Regions from separate parts of the Homo sapiens genome. Here region 1 is linked to region 2. Evidence: promoter capture Hi-C in human tissues and cell types (Jung and others, 2019). All regions are on one chromosome and are shown on one strand. Each heading gives the region's core, a stretch centred on a gene start or on the middle of the fragment in contact. The rest is flanking DNA. Distances are from core to core; before and after follow the strand shown. Region 1 overlaps MAPK1 (mitogen-activated protein kinase 1). Region 2 holds the start of YPEL1 (yippee like 1).

The links. Contacts are between HindIII fragments. The study calls those that stand out against the background at their distance.
Region 1: a fragment that was not itself captured here is called in contact with the fragment with the promoter of YPEL1 in region 2 in 2 of the 25 tissues and cell types used here (aorta and mesenchymal stem cells).

Annotation. Positions count from the first base shown.
Region 1 is chr22:21,804,865-21,812,153 of GRCh38, forward strand. MAPK1 (mitogen-activated protein kinase 1) reads right to left here. Exons shown (of 9, transcript NM_002745.5): 2 at 2,800-2,982; 3 at 986-1,175. Among named protein-coding and RNA genes, the nearest start is that of MAPK1, 59 kb to the right of the region's middle. RefSeq lists a silencer at 6,667-6,881. The HindIII fragment of the contact is 4,729 bases long and covers 1,657-6,385 here.
Region 2 is chr22:21,730,042-21,737,252 of GRCh38, forward strand. YPEL1 (yippee like 1) reads right to left here and starts at 5,753. Exons shown (of 5, transcript NM_013313.5): 1 at 5,574-5,753. RefSeq lists silencers at 1-153, 5,402-5,451, 5,472-6,321. The HindIII fragment of the contact is 30,524 bases long and covers 587-7,211 here.

The DNA of each region.
Region 1 (7,289 bases), core at 2,771-5,270, 73 kb after region 2:
TTGAGACCATCCTGGCTAACACGGTGAAACCCCATCTCTACAAAAATACAAAAACAAAGAAAAATTAGCCAGGCGTGGTGGCAGGTGCCTGTAGTCCCAGCTACTCGGGAGGCTGAGGCAGGAGAATGGCGGGAACCTGGGAAGCAGAGCTTGCAGTGAGCTGAGATCGCGCCACTGCACTCCAGCCTGGGTGACAGAGCGAGACTCCATCTCAAAAAACAAACAAACGAACAAAAAAACTAACACATAATGTACGTGATCCTGTTTATCTATATAAAGTATAAAAATACACATGTATGCAAGAGCATAGAAAATACTTTGGGAGAAAATACACTTTGTTTTTTAGGACAGAGTTTTGCTTTGTCACCCAGGCTGGCGTGCAGTGGTGTGATCTCGGCTCACTGCAACCTCCGCCTCCCAGGTTCAAGCGGTTCTCCTACCTCAGCTCCCATGTAGCTGGGATTACAGGCGCATGCCACCACGCCCGGCTGATTTTTGTATTTTTAGTAGAGATGGGGTTTCGCCATGTTGGCCAGGCTGGTCTTGAACTCCTGACCTCAGGTGATAAGGCCCACCTTGGCCTCCCAAGGTGCTAGGATTACAGGCGTGAGCCACCGCAACTGGCCACCAATTTGTTATAGTAGTTAGTTATCACGGCCTGGTGCTGTGGCCCACATACATAATCCCAGCACTTTGGGAGGCCAAGAAAGGAGGACTGCTTGAGCCCAGGAGTTCCAGACCGGCCTGGGCAACATACTAAGACTCTGTCTTTAAGAAAAAAAAAAAAAAGGTATCTCTGGGGAGAAAGGAGCAATGGGATAAGGAAGAAGAAGAGGACTACCACACTTTATTAGCATTTTTGCCATAAACATGTTTTTGGGTATTTCTGGTGTAATTTAAAATATGAATAATGACAAATATAACTATGCTTCAGTGAAAGGGTTTTTCAATATATATCACCTTAATAGTAAATAACCTGGCTGACCTTGAGATCACAGGTGGTGTTGAGCAGCAGGTTGGAAGGCTTGAGGTCACGGTGCAGAACGTTAGCTGAATGGATATATTTTAACCCTCTGAGGATCTGGTAGAGAAAATAGCAGATATGGTCATTGCTGAGGTGTTGTGTCTTCAAGAGCTTGTAAAGATCTGTTTCCATGAGGTCCTGTACTATATATCTGTTTGCACAGGTTAAGGTAAAACACCAATTAGCTGGTCACATTTAGCAAAGCATTGAAAACAAAAATGCATCCTCTCTTGACTCTCTTCCCAAACAGTCCATCATTACACCATGAAGCCCTTAAAGGAAAGAAGAAACTGAGGAAAACTTGGTTTCCTTCATGGAAAGAATCTGAAGTCGTTAACTCCTTTTAGGTCCTGTGAGATGGCAGGCATTCCAGCATTACATCTGACTGATGCGGCTATGGGCCTAGACTGAGATCTGAAACAGGCTGTTAGGGAAATTCTGGTCAATCTTGAAGTCTCAACCTCTTTGCTCTCTAAATTGTCCACCATCAACGAACCCCCTCCAAGGTTTGCTGGAAACACTGTTAGCCTGTAAGTAGCAGATACTCCCTCCTCTGTTTGGTCCAGTAACCTGTAATGTCACTATTCTTTTTACTTCTTGTTGCCGCTCCCCTCCTCTCCCAAGCTCCTCAAAAGCCAAACATAAAACTTCCAGAAATACAGGTCTAGAAACATACTCTTACTAGTAAATCCAACCCTAAGTCTATTTTCTTGACTCTTCCATTACTGTTAAGATCTTAAATAAGTAAGACTATGGGCAAGTCGTTCTAAGAAGGGGTTTGTGCTAGTTTTCCTCCTCATGCTTTCTTGCCTGGTCACGTACTTAACTACCTAAAAGTTTAGCTATGGCTACTTTCTTTCTCACAGAAATTAAATTATTAAAGCATTTAGCCTTTAACTTCATCATAGTATTATTTCATTAGCAGTATTTCTACATTTCTTTTACTCACTTCTGTGTAAACACTAGTCTCTGTTTCTTACAGATTTATGCTATAGGAGGCGCAGCATGGGATTCAAAGGAAACATGATTTAAAAATCTGTCATCTGAGAGAGGCTTATTTTCATGGCAAAAAGTAAAGCAGGACCAACAGGTGGTAGTGGCAGGAGGCATTTCACTTCAAATATCACTACAACTTATTAACAGAGCTGTTTAAAAATGGAAAGGGCTGCCTAGAAACAGCGAGCTCCCGCACCCTGGAGGGGCGGAATACAAATTGGGTAAACTGGTAGGAGTGCTGTATAACCCTTTCCCTTCTGGCAGATCCTCTTCAGTATACTTAACCTCTCTATCTTTCAAATGGAGCCTTTACCCAGGCAGCATCCTCTAGATCTGTTCAGTCCAGATTTCTAAATGTTGGTCAGAGTTAATCACATAATTTCAGACCTCAGTTGACCTTAAAGATCATGACGACCAGTTCCTTCATTTTAAAGGTGGGGAAACTGAGACCTAAAGTGGTAACCTGACTCTTAAGATCAGGACAGTCCTGATTTCACCAGGTAGATAGCCAGGGCACCCTCTTTCTTAGTCTACTACTGATCTTCCCTTTACCTTTTCATCATCACAACAAACCATCCCTTGGACAGAAGAAACATGACTGCAAACAGAGTTAACCAAGATTTTCCATGACTAGACTTAGGGAGTAAATAGCAAACAGATTACGATTTTCCCTTTAGCATGTTTAATGCACTTTTCCTTTAAGTTCAGGAAATTTCAAGTTCTATTTACTCAACAAGGTTACCAAGCAGTGGAATTGGCCAGTTGCCTAAAAAGGATACACATCTTTCATTTGCTCGATGGTTGGTGCTCGAATAATGTCATTGATTCCAATGATGTTCTCATGTCTGAAGCGCAGTAAGATTTTTATCTCCCTCAGGGTTCTCTGGCAGTAGGTCTGGTGCTCAAAGGGGCTGATTTTCTTGATAGCTACTCGAACTTTGTTGACATTATCATAAGCAGAGCTTAAAAAAGAGAGAGAGAGATGGCATTAAAAACAGCCCTCAGAATATTTGAAGAAGGCAAGTTGGTAAAGTATTATATTTTTAACACTGTGTAAACACCTGTTTCATACCCGTGAAGGCAGCATGTATATTATCCACAAAAAGGCCTCAAGCTAGGGAGGATGGATGCAACTGACATGAGAGAGCACACAGTGACTCTCAAAACTAACAGAGAACCTAGCCCTGTTAACTGGGTGAAAGTCTTGCCTTTATAAACCCAGAAATACACAAACAAGCATTCTCCCATTGTCTTAAACAGCAACTGCATTCTGGTGAGAGTAATCACTTCTGTCTCTGAAACACCTTCTTACTGTTGTATCAAATTCCTCTGACACAGAAGAAACATTCAAATAACCTACAACTGTACATCTTTATCCCTAACAAAAATGGACCCAAGAGAACACCTTGATTACTTCTATTAACTTTGTTTCTCTCACTTGCAAAACAACATGACCATTTCTTCCCCCAAGAAACTGAATCAAGATGTTTGGGTAGTTTTATAACAAAACCTAGAAAAGTATTCTTCAAAAAACATATTTGTGGCAATAACATGGGGCCCAGTTCTTTCCTAGTTGTCCTTAATGTCTGATAAACCAGAATTATAAGCAAAAGCAATAATAAAAATTATACCTTCAATTTTATGAATTTGAATCTTGAGTATTACTACTATCTTTATGATAAACATTCTATTACAATCTTGTGTATAAGAAATTTTCATATTAATAAATGTCAACATCTGGCCCACTGACCAAAGCAATCAAATAACATTGACAGGCAGTAAGACAACATTTCTTGTTTCCTTGGGGTAAGTGCTAGAATAGAAAGCAGTAAAATAACTTTATTCTAAAATTTATGCTTCTAGGGCCGGGTGCAGTGGCTCACACCTGCAATCCCAGCACTTTGGGAAGCTGGGGCGGCTGGATCACTTGAGGACAGGAGTTTTGAGACCAGCCTGGACAACATGGTGAAACCCCGCCTCTACTAAAAATACAAAAAAATTAGCCAGGCATGGTGGCAAGTGCCTACAATCCCAGCTACTTGGGAGGCTGAGGCACAAGAATCACTTGAACCTGGGAGATGCACGTGGCAGTGAGCCAAGATTGTACCACTGCACTCCAGCCTGGGCGACAGAGTGAGACTCCGTCTCTAAATTAAATAAAGTTTATGCTTCTATAATATTTATCAGTCTACTAATCCTAAGAATTATTGATACATTTGTCTGATTCTATGACAAGATAATGCTCTGGAGGAGAACTTTGTCTTACTAGGATCCAATTATCCTACAACACCATTAACATATAGTACACAGGTGGCCCCAAATGCTTTGAAATGAAGTATATTTTCTTAAGTAAAATAACCACTACTCAAATCTTATTTTGCTTTGGTTTGGTACATGAGGCCCTAAGCCAGTGATTTTCAGTTAGGCAACAGCATATATAATAGTAATAATTTAACATAGTATTAAAAAGCATATATAATAAGCAAGCTTATTCAATATTGGGAATATTTTTAGAAAAAAATTCTATTTTGGTAATTCAAATCATAGAACAAGAGTTCAACAACAGCACGGATTAGTTATAAAATGCTGGTTTAAACTCAACATTACAATTTTCTAGTGTTAATATTATAAATTTCTAGTGTTAACAGTCACAAGTGGTCATAATTTGTTCTGCAAAATTATAATCCAACAAAATTTTTGGAGAGAGGAGTTTATGGTCAGTGTGCCCCTCTACTGTATCAACACTCAGTGACGAAATAACTGCCCTCCCCCCCGGCCTCTTTAAAATTTTTTTGTGGAAGCAGTCTCGCTCTGTCGCCCAGGCTGGAGTGCAGTGGTGCGATCTTGGCTCACTGCAAGCTCCCCCTCCTGGGTTCAGGCCATTCTCCTGCCTCAGCCTCCCGAGTAGCTGGGACTACAGGCCCCGCCACCACGCCTGGCTAATTTTTTGTATCTTTAGTAGAGACGGTGTTTCACCGTGTTAGCCAGGATGGTTTCAATCTCCTGACCTCGTGATAGGCCCCGCCTCGGCCTTGCAAAGGGCTGGGATTACAGGGTGAGCCACCATGCCCGGCCAACTGCCTCCTTTTAAGTAAGAAAATATGAGATCATCCTCATCTGGTCCCACTTGAAAAAAAGGAGTTTTGTCTGTTCCTGTCTGCTCCGCTTAACCATTCTGCTGCCTTTTTGGTTTATGCAATCTATCTTTCATAGAACTGATGACAAAGAGGGTTACACTCTTCCATAATGATTCCATACTTGCTAGTTTCTCCTTGGATTTCTCGGTTTTGTTTTACATATTTTATTGTTGATACTTGGTAAATAAGGCATACCATGAACTTTCAGGTGTCTATAAACATTTATGCTTTAAAATCACTTTGACATTACCAACTGTGTCTTGTTTTGCTCAACCCCTTTTGTCCCTAACTACCACCACACTACAGGTTTTTGCTATAAGTGTGTCTCTTATCACAGGAATCCAAAGATGGTTCATTAAAAAAGAAGGCCGGGTGCGGTGGCTCATGTCTGTAATCCCAGCACTTTGGGAGGCCAAGGCAGGCGGATCATGAGGTCACGGCAGGCGGATCATGAGGTCACGAGATTGACACCATCCTGTCCAAAATGGTGAAACCCCATCTCTACCAAAAATACAAAAATTAGCTGGGTGGGGTGGTGCGCGCCCATAGTCCCAGCTACTTGGGAGGCTGATGCAGAAGAATGGCTTGAACCCAGGTGATGGAGGCTGCAGTGAGCCAAGATCGCGCCACTGCACTCCAGCCTGGTGACAGAGTGAGACTCAGTCTCAAAAAACAAAAAAAAAAAAAGTGGGGGTCAGTCCTAATGGGTGTGTGGTGATAGCTCATTGTGGTTTTGATTTGCATTTCTCTGATTCATGATGATGACCATCTTTTCTTATGTCTTCTTTTGAAACGTGTATTCAACGTTATGCCTTTTTTTTTTTTGAGACGGAGTCTCGCTATGTCGCCAGGCTGGGGTGCAGTGGCTCAATCTCGGCTTACTGCAACGTCTGCCTCCTGGGTTTATGCAATTCTCCTGCCTCAGTCTCCTGAGTAGCTGGAATTACAGGATCTCCTGACCTGGTGACCCGCCTGCCTTGGCCTCCCAAAGTGCTGGAATTACAGGCGTGAGCCACCCACCACGACCAGCCAGGACTGCCACTATTTAAAAACAAACAAACAAACAAACAGAAAACCGTAAGTGTGATGTGGATAAATTTGAACCTTCATACTCTATTGTTGAGTGTGCAAAATGGTGTAACCACTTGGAAATTCCTCAAAAAATTAAAAATAGAATTCCCATATGGTCCAGCAATCCCACTTCTGAGCATATATCCAAAACAATTCAAAGTAGAATCTCTAAGAGCTACTGGCAGGTTCATTGTGCAGCATTACGCACAATACCCAAGATGTGGAAGCAACCGAAATGTCCACTATGGATGAATGGATAAAGAAAATGTAGCATATACATAGAGTGGAATATTATTCAGTCTTTAAAAAAAAAAAAAAAACCACACACACACACAAAGAAATTCAATTCAGCATCCAAAAACCATGCCTAATTGTTTTTATTATTTATTTATTTATTTGAGACAGAGTCTCGCTCTGTCGCCCAGGCTGGAGTGCAGTATCGCATCTTGGCTCACTGCAAGCTCCGCCTCCTGGGTTCTCGCCATTCTCCCGCCTCAGCCTCCCGAGTAGCTGGGACTACAGGGGCCCACCACCACGCCCGGCTAATTTCCTTTTTTTTTGTATTTTTGGTAGAGATGGGGTTTCACCATGTTAGCCAGGATGGTCTCGATCTCCTGACCTCGTGATCTGCCCGCCTTGGCCTCTCAAAGTGCTGGGATTACAGGTGTGAGCCACCGCACCCGGCCAATTGTTTTTAATTTAAAAACTTTTTGGTAGATATGGGGTCTCACTATGTTATCCAGGCTGGTCTTGAACTCCTGGTCATAAGTGATCCTCCCACCTCAGCCTCCCAAAGTGCTGGGATTACAGGCATGAGCCATTGTGCCTGGTCTGACTTAATATTCTTAAAGTGTCTACACTACTCAGTGTGGTCTGCAGAGTCAATGTAATCCCTATCAAAGTTCCAATGGCATTTTTCACAGAAACAGAAAATGTAATCTTTAAATTCATATATGGAACCACAAAAGATCCCATATAGCCAAAGCAATCCTGAGCAAGAACAAAGTGGTGGCTTCACATCACTTGATTTCAAAATACACTACAAAGCTATAGTAACCAAA
Region 2 (7,211 bases), core at 4,503-7,002:
CTAGGGAGGCTGAGGCGGGAGAACTGCTTGAACCCGGGAGGCAGAGGTTGTGGTGAGCCAAGATTGTGCCACTGTACTCCAGCCTGGGCAACAGAGCGAGACTCCTTCTCAACAAAAGCAACAACAACAACAAAGTTTAACCAAAAGAGACTGGCCAAATGCACTGATAAACACACATCAGGGACATTTCCATCATGGGGCTTCCAGAGTCTCGCTCTGTCTCCCAGGCTGGAGTGCAGTAGCACGATCTTGGCTCACTGCAGCCTCCGCCTCCTGGATTCAAGCAATTCTTGTGCCTCAGTCTCCCAAATAGCTGGGACTACAGGCACCTCCCACCATGCCTGGCTAAGTTTGTATTTTTAGTAGAGATGGGGTTTCACCATGTTGGCCAGGCTTGCCTTGAACTCCTGACCTCAAGTGATCCACCCGCCTTGGCCTCCCAAAGTGTTGGGATTACAGGCGTGAGCTACAGCATCTGGCCCACACTGACTATTCAAACTCTCACATAGTACATGAAGTCACAGGTGTGGAAAGGTCTGGAAAAATTTACAACAAAGGGCAACAGCATGGGTACAATTTGCCTTTGGCAATTCCAGCTTCCATCCACACACATCCACTTCCTCCCTACTTGCATTACAGGAGGAAAAGCTCCCCTCCACATTTCAGGAACTGCAGCCTAGGTGCACAATGGGACTCACTGACAGCATCAAACCACCTATATGGCTGCCCTGAGACAAAGCTCCATGGCCCTCTGTAGACTCCCCACCAGCCCCTGCTCTCTGGGGAACCCAAGGGGCCTGGCTCCTCCATTGCCCAGTGGCCCCAGGTGCCTCGGCCCTCCAGGCTCTCTCCTCCATCTCTCCTCCCACCTGTGCTCAAGTACTACCTCTACCACCTCTCCTGAGACTACTGATAATGTGCTTGTACTGAGCGCTTCTTTTCAAAGAACCTGTACTACATTTTTTTTTCTACCATTAGTAACAAAGTTTCCCACAACCAAGGCCCTGGGACACATCCCAGTAGAGGTGCTTTCTTGCTAACAACAAGAAGAGGGGGCTGTGCATGGTGACTCATGCCTGTAATCCCAGCACTTTAAGAGGCCAAGGTGGGAGGATCATCTGAGGTCAGGAGTTCGAGACCAGCCTGGGCAACATGGCGAAAACCCGTCTCTAAAAAAAAATTTAAAAATTAACCAGGTGTGGTGGCACGTGCCTGTCGTCCCAGCTACTCGGGAGGCTGAGGTGATCGCCACTGCACTCCAGCCTGGATGACAGAGTGAGACCCTGTGTCAAAAAAAAAAAAGAAAGAAAAGGGGAGGTGTAGGAACTATGTGCAACACTAGCCTTGTTAGGTTGAAAGAGTGGGTACCACACCCAGAAGACTGGATTGAGATAGAAGAAAAGAGGTTGAGAATCTTAAAAACTACTTTATTTACCCTCATGCTAAATAAAGTCTCATCAGACATTAAAGGCCCTGTCTTGGGGCAAGAGAAGGGGGGAAAAAAAAAAAAAAAAACAGATACACAAAGAGGAACCAGAAAAGGTGAGGGGGAAGCGTTTGGGTGGCGGGGGTATATGCCAATGCTGCTGAGAAGGCAGGTGGCACCACGAGGGAGGGAGTAGGTGAGGTTTGGCAACAGGGATGTCATCACCCCCAGGACAAAGGTGAAAGAGGGTCTGACTTGCTTTGAGAGGCTTCCCAGGCTTTGATGCAAAATGTGCCACGTGTTTGTTGGCTCTGGGACCTGAAGCCAAGTTCTGCTACCTTCTTTGTAAAGTGGGGTAACGTGCAATTTACAGGGCAGTCAGAGTCACATGAGATGTTAAGGGGGATGATCCTTGGGCACAGTTTAGGTGTCTGACCAGGGCCTTACGGCAGGAGCATGTGTCACTGTTACAGGACGGCAGGGGCTCAGCAAGCACCTCACAAGCCCCACCAGGAATCCCGGCCCCGGCCCAAGGCCCTGCAGGTGCCAGAGGGCCTACTGAGCAATGGGGTGAATAACGGCTCCTAACCCCTTTCTGGGGTGTGGGCAACAGTGGTTGGCTCCAGGATTTCCATTTTACTCTCACCTGCCAACAGGTTTTTGGTACTCAGCATCTGTATAGCAGGTGTAACGTCCTGGCATTTGCTGGCGGAATCGATTTCACCCTCTTGACTTCTTTCCTGAATCTATCTCGCACTGCTTGCTCCAAAAACCCTTAGCCCTCTATGTCTTGGCTATTGAGAACTTTCTTCAACCTCCGCTCAAATCTCTTGTCAAAATTCCCACTCCCTAGAGCTTTCACTGATTATTAGATCTAACTACTTAAAAACATTTACGTCAACTTCATTTAACTCTAATGAAAAGCATCACAGAACAGTTTGAAAGCAGGGGGGCTTCTATTGCTTCTTCATATTCAAAACAATTTTGTTTATTAGTCTTCCATGGAGACAAATATGTTAAAACTACAGGGTTGGCCAGGCGCGGTGGCTCACGCCTGTAATCCCAGCACTTTGGGAGGCCGAGGCAGGCGGATCACTTGAGGTCAGGAGATTGAGGCCATCCTGGCCAACCTGGTGAAACCCCGTCTCTATTAAAAATACAAAAATTAGCTGGCTGTTGTGGCGGGTGCCTGTAGTCCCAGCTACTCAGGAGGCTGAGACAGGAGAATCGCTTGAACCCGGGAGGCGGAGGCTGCACTGAGCCGAGATCACGCCACTGCACTCCAGCCTGGCGACAGAGTGGGACTCTGTCTCAAAAATAACAACAACAACAAAAACAAACAAACAAACTGCAAGGTAGGCTGGGCTCACACCTGTAAATCCCAACACATCGGGAGGCTGAGACTGGAGGATCACTTGAGGCCAGGAGTTTGAGATCAACCTGGGCAACACAGTGAGAACCCCAAACCTCATATCTACCAAAAAAAATTTTTTTTTTATATAGCTGGGCATGGTGGTGCACACCCACAGTCCCAGCTACTCAGAAGGCTGAGGCTGTAGGATTGCTTGAGCCCAAGAGGTTGAGGCTGCAGTGAGCTATGATTGTGCCACTGTACCCCAGGCTTGAGTGACAAAGCAAGACTCTGTCTCTCTAATATAACAAAACAAGGCTGGGCACTGTGGCTTACACCTGTAATCCCACCACTTTGGGAGGCTGAGGGGTGGCAGATCATCTGAGGTCAAGAGTTTGAGACCAGCCTGGGCAACATGGTGAAACCCTGTCTCTACTAAAAATACAAAATTAGCTGGGTGTGGTGGCACATGCCTGTAATCCCAGCTACTCGGGAGGCTGAGACAGGAGAATCGCTTAACCCTGGAGGTGGAGGCTGCAGTGAGCCGAGATCATGCCACTGCACTCCAGCCTGGGTGAGACAGAGCGAGACTCTGTCTCAAAAAATAAACAAATAAAGTAACAAAACAAAACTAACTGGGGGTGGTGGCTCACACCTATAATCTCAGCACTTTGGGAGGCAAGGGGGGAGGATCGCTTCAGCTCAGGAGTTTGAGACCAGCAACAGAGTGAGATCCTGTCTCTACAGAAAAATCAAAAAATTAGCTGGGTATGGTGGTGTGTGCCTGTGTTTCCAGCTACTCAGAAGGCAGGTGGATGGCTTGAACCTAGGAGGTTGAGGCTGCAGTGAGTGGAGACAGTGCCATTATACTCCAGCCTGGGTGACAGAATGAGACCTTGTCTCAAAAAACCAATTTGTTTGTTGAAATAAACAAACCAAAACAAACCAACAAAAAAAGAAAGAAAAAAGGAAAAAACCTATAGGGTAGCCTCTTTCCCTTTTCCTGCATCCCTGCCCCTTGACACAGGTGCTGGTGGAACTTAGTGAAGACAGGCAAGAATCAAGAACAGATGTTAGAGGAACACTGCTCTCAACCTAAAGAAAATAGCTTTATGGTGAGGTATAGCAGCTCAAGCCTGTAATCCCAACACTTCAGGAGGCTGAGGCAGGTGGATCACTTGAGCCTAGGAGTTCAAGACCAGCCTGGGAAACATTAAGTGAGACCCCAGTCTCTACAAAAAAAAATGTAAAGTTAACCAGTCATGGTGGTGTGCACCTGTAGTCCTAGCTACATGGGAGGCTGAGGCAAGAGGATCACTTGGGCTCAGGATGTGGAGGTTGCAGTGAGTCGTGTTTGTGCCACTGCACTCCATCCTGAGCAAGAGTGAGACCCTGTCTCAAACAAAGAAACAAACAGAGAAATGGCTTTATAAATTACAGTGATTCAAAGGTGAAAAGGCTTAATACCCACAGTTTAGTGACAAGAATGCACCCAGGTGTTTTTCATATTGGCAAGTGTACCACAGCAGTGTAGGATGGGGTAAGGATAGGGAGCACTGGGTGTAGGATATATTGGGATTGTCTGTACTATCTTTGCAACCTTTATGTAAATTTAAAGTTTTTCCAAAATAAGAAGTTATTTTAAAAGAAGACTATTGCTCAGATTGGTAATTAAGAGCGCTCAGTTATTATATAAATGCTCAATATGGGCCCAACCCGTAGGGGTTCCCACAAGTAGATGAGACTCTACCCTGTAGGGCCCAAGAGGAAACACCATGAAGGTCCTGGAGATCCTCTTATTCCTCAAACATGCCACTACCATTGCCTCGCAAGAGCCCTGAGGGGGACCAGTGCATGATTGTAAGACAAAATGACATCAGGATTAAGCACAGCTCCTGGCACCTGGCAGGGGCTCAGCAAACATTTGTCACATCTATAGCTTGCTCAGGTGAGGTGCCTGGAAAGTCTCCCCAGTGGTGGTAAACCTAGTCTTGGGACCTGAGTAGGGAATTAGGAGTGTCAGGGGCTGGTGGGTGGGAAGAATAACATTCTTAGCAAAGGAAACATCAGGTTAAGGTGGGTATGTTTTAGATAGAGGAAGAAGAAATGCAACGGAACAGAAAAAGCGTGGGGCGGGGAAATTGATGTCTTCCATGTTCATTATCTGCCTAAAATAGAATCTCAGCCTTTTTTCCATCCTTAGAATTCAGCACATAATTTGGACATCAAAGATGTCAATCAGAGCCAAGCATGGGGGAGGCGGACCCTGTTTAGATCTCTGAAGCTCAGGCTTTTGCAATCTCTGTTAACGAAACCTATGCCACAAGTGGTAAATACCGAGGACGCTCCATTTTAGTCATGATCTTTATGTGGCTACTTGAAAAGCTTTTCCGCCTTTCTGATAAACATTCCTAGGAGACCTCTTTTGCCCTCATTTCCTTGCCCAGTTGAGGCTGTATTTTTTAAGGAAGGAAAATCCAAAAATCAGGGATCTTGTCCATTTTCCCTATCTTTTCACGGCGGGGCGGGAGAAGAGGGACAGCGGGGGAGGTGGAGAGAAGAAACGGCGGGGGAATCAAAGATTAGGCGTTGTTGTCTGTGCCAAAACGGAGTGAGCCCAATATCAACAAATCAAAATCCAAAACGGAACAAAAAAGTCACAGGCCCGCCCTGCTCGCGCCCCCGCCCGCCCGGACGCCCAACAGGTGCTTCCCGGGCCCGCCCGCAGCCACAGTATCCTTGGGTGGCCACAAAGTAACCGCCCGCGCAGCTGCAGCCAGGCCCGCCCGTACTCACGGCCGCTCCGCGGTCCGCGCCCCGGCCCGCAGCGCCCATCCGGCCCGGGCCCCGGTCAGCGCGGGCTCGGCTCTCAGGCGTTCCCGGCGCGGCCCGGGACGCGCTGAGGCCGTTAACGCCTAGGCAGGGCGCGAGGCATCCTCCCGCCGCCGCCCCGCGGGCCGCCTGCCCTTTGTTTTGGAGCCGTAGCCCGGCCCAGACGCCGTTAACAGCCTTGGAGCGCGGCGCCGGCCAATCAGCGCGCCATGTCGCCAGCGCCCCGCCCCCATCCTGCCTCCGTTCCGCCCCGCGTCCCGCCTGCCCCGCGCGCCCCCGCCCCGCGCGCTCCGGGCCAAGGAGCTCCGCCAGCTCGCACCCGGCCGGGACGGGCAGGAGCCCACGTGCCGCGGGGCGCGCCGCACTCCCATTGGCTGACCCGCCGGGCGCGGCCTCGGAGCCAGCCTGTAAGGGCCGAGGGACACGGGGGCGGGGCCGCGCGGGGCGGGGCGAGAGCAGGGGCGGGTTCCGCGAGGAGCGCCGCGCTCGGACGCAGGCTGGCTGGGCAGGGACACTCGGCCGGCGGGGCTGGCGGTGGTGGTCACTCGTTCCTCCGGCTCGCGGGGATGGGCCGAGGGCGTGCAGGGCCCGCAGCTCCAGAGGCTGAGGCGAGCTTGCGCGCAGCCTCCTCGTCCAGCGCCGTGCACGTACCGCCCGTCCGCGCGGTCGGCCGCGTTGTAGGGGACGGACGTGGAGGCCGAGGCGAGCTTGTGTGCGCCTGACCAGGGCCCGCCTTGGCCGGACCCCTCCGCGGCCGGGTCCCCAGAATGCGGTCGTCCGTGCTGTCCCGTCCCCACCACCCTCTCTGAACCCAAGGACCTAACCCCCTAGGACCCCCTCGCCACGGAGGACCCCCCGGGTCTGCGTCTGGCCCCTCGCTCTGCTCCAGGACTGCCGCGTCAGACCCTACAGAAAGCCCCTTCCTCTGGGTAGTGCTCCCGACGCCCCGGCAGCCTGCGCCACCCCCACGCCTCTAATGTCACTGTTTTCTTGGTTCCGTATCCCTTCTTTAAAAAAATATATATTATTTGAAAATAGATATGTATTATTTGAATATATATATTTGAAGGCTGGGTGTGGTGGCTCACGCCTGTAATTCCAGTACTTTGGGAGGCCGAGGCAGGAGGATCATTTGAGCCCAGGAGTTCAAGAGCAGCCTGGGCAACATAGTGAGACACTGTACCAAAAAAAAAAAAAGAAAGAAATTAGGCATGGTGGTGCACACCTGTAGTCCCAGCTACCTGTGAGGCTGAGGCGGGAGGATCACTTGAGCCCAGGAGGTCGAGGCCTCAGTGAGCCATGATCGCGCTACTGCACTCCAGACTGGGTGACAGAGCGAGACCCTTCCTCTTGAACAAAAAAAAAAAAAAAGAAAAGAAAAAAACCAAGAAAACAACAAAACCTCTATTGAGGTCACAATGTATATAACATTGTTATCAGCGTCCTCTGGACGTATTCTCTTGTTTTCTGCAACCCACTGTGTATGTAAAGATCTCTTCAAGTCGCTAAATGTACACCTGACTCATAACTTAGATTGTGGCTGGATGTTGCCTTTTTTTTTTTTTTTTTTTTTTTCCTTGAGACAGGAGTCTCGCTGTGTCG